Linked DNA regions of Homo sapiens: region 2 is linked to region 1. Evidence: promoter capture Hi-C in human tissues and cell types (Jung and others, 2019). All regions are on one chromosome and are shown on one strand. The core of a region is centred on a gene start or on the middle of the fragment in contact, and the rest is flanking DNA. Distances in the headings are between cores, read along the strand shown.

The links. The method cuts DNA at HindIII sites, captures the fragments that hold promoters and counts their contacts. A contact is called where the count stands out against the background at its distance.
Region 2: a contact is called between a fragment that was not itself captured here and the fragment with the promoter of NUDT13 in region 1, in 1 of the 25 tissues and cell types used here (lymphoblastoid cells).

Annotation. Positions count from the first base shown.
Region 1 is chr10:73,109,123-73,111,822 of GRCh38, forward strand. It overlaps NUDT13 (nudix hydrolase 13), which reads left to right and starts at 1,333. Exons shown (of 9, transcript NM_015901.6): 1 at 1,333-1,445. The HindIII fragment of the contact is 13,958 bases long and covers 113-2,700 here.
Region 2 is chr10:72,313,833-72,316,532 of GRCh38, forward strand. No RefSeq gene overlaps it. Among named protein-coding and RNA genes, the nearest start is that of DNAJB12, 40 kb to the right of the region's middle. The HindIII fragment of the contact is 5,549 bases long and covers 1-2,700 here.

The DNA.
Region 1 (2,700 bases), core at 83-2,582:
CTCTCATAGGCAAGTAACTTCAGTAGTAAAACGAGAAGAGAGCAGCACCAAAGTAGCTCTGCTGAGAGGTGAAGCCAGCTGGACTTCCTGGGTGGAGTGGGGACTTGGTGAACTTTTCTGTCTAGTTAGAGAATTGTAAATGCACCAATCAGCACACTGTAAAAATGCACCAATCAGCACTCTGTGTCCAGCTAAAGGATTGTAAACACACCAATCAGCACTCTGTAAAAATGCACCAATCAGCGCTCTGTGTCTAGGTAAAGGATTGTAAACGCACCAATCAGCACTCTGTTTCCAGCTAAAGGATTGTAAACACACCAATCAGCACTCTGTAAAAATGCACCAATCAGTGCTCTGTGTCTAGCTAAAGGATTGTAAACACACCAATCAGCACTCTGTGTCTAGCTAAAGGATTGTAAATGCACCAATCAGCACTGTGTCTAGCTAAAGGATTGTAAACGCACCAATCAGCACTCTGTAAAAACGCACCAATCAGCACTCTGTGTCTAGCTAAAGGATTGTAAATGCACAAATCAGCACTCTGTCAAATGGACCAATCAGCACTCCATAAAATGGACCAATCAGTGCTCTGTAAAATGGACCATTCAGCAGGATGTGGGCAGGGACAAATAAGGGAATAAAAGCTGGCACCCCCAACAGCAGCGGCAACCTACTCGGGTCCCCTTCCACGCTGTGGAAGCTTTGTTCTCTCGCTCTTCACAATAAATCTTGCTGCTGCTCACTCTTTGGGTTCGTGCCACCTTTAAGAGCTATAACACTCACCGAAAGCTCCACGGCTTCATTCTTGAAGTCAGCAAGACCAAGAACCCACTGGAAGGAACCAACTCCGGACACACTTCTAGGAGACTACTTCCAGTCAAATGGAATGCGCTTCCTCTGATCAAGAAATGAATCCTACCATAAGTTCAAACATATCTATACATACCTATACAGAGTCCCATCCTTTTAAATTGGAAGAACTTCATGAAATTTTAGAGCTAGTTCTAAAGTGTGCAGAGAGAGAACTAGAGATATACTAAGGTTAAAAGGTATTTGATTCCCACCCCTGCTTCATCCTCTCCCCAGCCTCATAATATATGCCTTCTGTGTATGAGGGTGGACTTAATGACTTTATCTTTTTTTAATTAAAAAATGGATCTAATACTAACCTACTTTCTCCAAGGATACAGTAGTTCTCTTGGTAATAAGATCTTAGATGTTCATGCTTTTGACAATCATGGTTAACTTGCAGCTGGAGAACACAGCAGCATGCCTGGGAACTGAACTACAATTCCCAGAGTGCATCTCTAGGAGGATTCTGGGAAGTGTGGCAGAAGCAGCAATGGTCCCTCCAGGGAACGGAAGCCGTTGAACGTGAACATTTGGAGTTTCCTCTTTTGTGCTGATTCCTGAGGACTAGGAAGGTGCCCCGAAAAGAATTCAGAGTGAGTACAGTGAAACAGAAACCTGCTCAGCTTCTAAGTGCAGGAAGGACTTCACAGGGAGGCATGATCAGAACTTGAAAAAAGGTCGTGGTCACAGCATTTTAACATTTTAGCTTAATCTCTTCCTTTTTGCAGAAACCAGGGATATAACCATAGTTTTGCCTCATAACTGTGGAGCTACATCAGTAACCACAGCTCATCATTTTCTGATACTTTTTTGGAGAGTCATTTAAAAATGGAACTTGCCAACCTCTCACATTGTGCCTTAATTTTTATTTTTTTTTAAAGGAGGGAAAATTATTTTTTAGAAAGCAAACTATAAAGCAGGTCAGTGAGACCTTCAAAGCTGTATTCCCGTGGTTCCTCAGTTTTCCATATTTCCCTGTCCCATGGAGGTCCACAGTCGTGGAGAAACGGACTCTAAACACAGGCGAAGTATCACTTGGTCGCCCAGGCTGGAGTGCAGTGACACGATCTCCACTCACTGCAAGCTCCGCCTCCTGGGTTCATGCCATTCTCCTGCCTCATACTCCCTAGTAGCTGGGACTACAGGCGCCCGCCACCACGCCCAGCCACTTTTTTTTGTATTTTTAACAGAGACGGGGTTTCACCGTGTTAGCCAGGATGGTCTCGATCTCCTGACCTCGTGATCCGCCCACCTCGGCCTCCCAAAGTGCTGGGATTACAGACGTGAGCCACCGCGCCCGGCCTAAAAAAAGGTCTCTTAAATACTAGGGAACCTGGCCTCTTCACGGTGGAAGTAACCACTAGATTCAAGATGGGCTTTTTTTGTTTTGTCTTGTTTTGTTTTGTTTTTTTGTTTTGAGACGGAGTCTCGCTCTGTCGCCCAGGCTGGAGTGCAGTGGCGCGATCTCGGCTCACTACAAGATGGGCTTTTTTGTCACGCTGTAGTACTTTATAATCTTTCTTCTGGAAAGATGAACAGGATAAGAAACGTGTGAATCATTTGTGTTGGGGAGTTCAAAGAAACTCTTAATGTTAAAGCACCTTGCCTCATCATTTAGTAGTTGGGTAAGACTGCTATTACCTTTCATCTCTATCAAACATTGTACTTTTAAAAACATAAATAGCTCTGTGACCATCAGCTCATGAGTCAGCAGCCATGATAATCTACAACTGGCTAAGGTTAATTTAGTAGCAGAAACTAGGCAAAACATCAGGCAGCAGTTCCCAAGGTCCAAGAAACTCACCAAATGAATTCCCTTTGGCTCATGGAATATGGTGAGGTGTTTTG
Region 2 (2,700 bases), core at 151-2,650, 800 kb before region 1:
TATTTAATTTATTTTTATTTTTTTTCTGAGATGGAGTCTCACTCTGTCCCCCAGGCTGGAGTGCAGTGGCGCAATCTCGGCCCACTGCAACCTCCCCTTCCTGGATTCAAGAGATTCTCCTGCCTCAGCCTTCGGAGTGGCTGGGACTACAGGCACCTACCACCACAACTAGCTAATATTTTTTATTTTTAGTAGAGATGGGGTTTAACCATGTCGCCAGGATGGTCTCCATCTCCTGAACTCATGATCCACCTGCCTCGGCCTCCCAAATTGCTGGGATTACAGGCGTGAGCCACCGCGTCCAGCCAAGCTTAAGGCCTTGACAGTATTACCTGTGCTATGGGAATTTTGGACCTTCAAAAAATGTAATTTAGGGCCAGCCACAGTGGCTCACATCTGTAATCCCAGCACTTTGGGAGGCCAAAGCAGGAGAATCACTTGAGCCCAGGAGTTTGAGACCACCCTGGGCAATATAGGGAGACCCCGTCTCTACAAAAGATTTAAAAATTAACTGAGCATGATGGTGAGTGCCTGTAGTCCCATCTACTTGGGAGGCTGAAGTGGGAGGATCACTTGAGCCCAGGAAGCGAAGGTTGCAGCAAGCGAGACTGTGCCACTGCACTCCAGCCTGGGCGATAGACCGAGACCCTGTCTCAATCAATCAATCAATCAATCAATCAGCTGAGCATGGTGGCACATGCCTGTAGTCCCAGCTACTAGGGAGGCTGAGGCAGGAGGATCGCTTAAGCGTGAGAGATCAAGGCTGCAGTGAGCTCTGATCACACCAGTGTATTCCAGCCTGGTGACACAGTGAGACTCTGTCTCTAAGAAAAAACGAAAAAAGAAAATGCAATTTGGCCGGGCGCAGTGGCTCACGCCTATAATCCCAACACTTAAGGAGGCCGAAGTGGGTGGATCACCTGAGGTCAGGAGTTCAAGACCAGCCTGGCCAACATGGTAAACCCTGTCTCTACTAAAAATACAAAAATTAGCCGAGCGTGGTGGTGGTCGCCTGTAATCCCAGCTACTTGGGAGGCTGAGGCAGGAGAATCACTTGAACCAGGAAAGGGGAGGTTGCAGTGAGCACAGATCACGCCTCTGCACTCCAGCCTTGTCAACAAGAGCGAAATTCCGTCTCAAAAAAAAAAAAAAAGAAAGCAAGAAAAAGCAACTTAACATGTAGAACTCTTTCTGGTCATGCCACATTGTTTCTTTTTCCTCATTTCCTTTCACTCACGAGCTCGAGCTCTTTTGAATGCTCAAACGTGTGCTTGTGGTGAGGTGCCCCTGGAATTCCTTTTATTCTAAGACAATGGCCTTCCAGGAGTACCTGCAGGAAGACCTGTTAAGACTGGCCTGGGACCTCCTAGACTTGCCTGGGACCTCCCTGCAGGAGTTGCCAAATGGAACCGGGAGGGAAGAGAGGTTTGCCTTTGCCCTTGGCCTTGGTTTGGGGTGGAGACACCCAGGCTGAGACATTCTCCCCTCCATAGCTGGCCAAGTTCCAATCTGGCATGGCTGTCCCTGCTGCCATTGTCATGGGCTCTTTCGGGGGAGTTCCGGACAGCACCACTGTGCAAAAGATTGTCCTGGCCTCCAGAAAGTCGGCTCCAAATGACACTGAGGGAAGAAAGAGGAAATCTCTGCAGTGTACTTCCCTGAGTTTTTGGGGAATGGTTCTCTTTCCCCTCTTTCCATCCCTTCTCTACAAATCCAGGGCTCACAGTTAAGCCCTAGGTTTGTAACACGGCTTCATAACTAAGAATGGCATTAATTAGCAACACTGTATAAATAAAAAGGGGGGCCAACAAGGATGGAGGGCGTGGGGGGAGTATGTGGTTGGCCATCCCAGGCCACCTTCCTCCTCCAGCTCCCAGGCTTGCTTCAGCTTTGCTGCAAGTTCCTGCCAATATATTTCTGCTTGGGACAGGAGCCAAGGGTCAGATAAAGTTCCAACTGTATTTTGCAGCAGGTCTGACACTTTGCCCAGTGCTCTAGGCCTGTGACAGTGCCAGGATAGTATATTGGGAAAGCCAGTCCAGAAGGAGTTGGTTTAAATGTGTTTGAGGTAGCAGGCAGGTGACTAAGCAGACAGTTCAGCAACACAACACTCAGTAACACCATCAGACCAATGTGGCTCCCAGGGACATGGAAGGCCTGTGTTCCTTTCCCAGGAAGCCCCCAGCAGCTACCGTGCTCATGCCCCAGCATTTCAGGGACCAAGATCTGTAGCCCCATTTTGTGATCTTTAGTAAGACAAGTAAACACTGAACACTAAGTGTGCTTATGCCAACCACTTTACATACATGATCTGATGGAATCCTCAGCACAGCTGATGAGGGAGTTACTGTTATTTTCCTAGCCATACAGTTAGTAGCTGACACTACAGGGAACAGACACACTTACTGTCTATGAGGATCTCTTCTAAACACTTTCCATGCATTAACTAATTTTTTGGGGAAACTGAGGCAGAGCAGGAGCAAAGCCAGTTGTCCAGTGTCACACAACTGGTGGGTGTGGACCTGAAACCACTGGAGGCTGGGTGATTCCAGAATGGAGGGTTCACCCCTGCACTACCCCCTGATTTTCCAAGTGGGGTAACAGGTTCGGAGACAGTCAGGGAAGAGAAACCAGGGTGAGATGGGTTAGTTCAGATGAGGTCAAAGGTTGCACTCTCTTCTGCTTCCTGACAAGCATAAT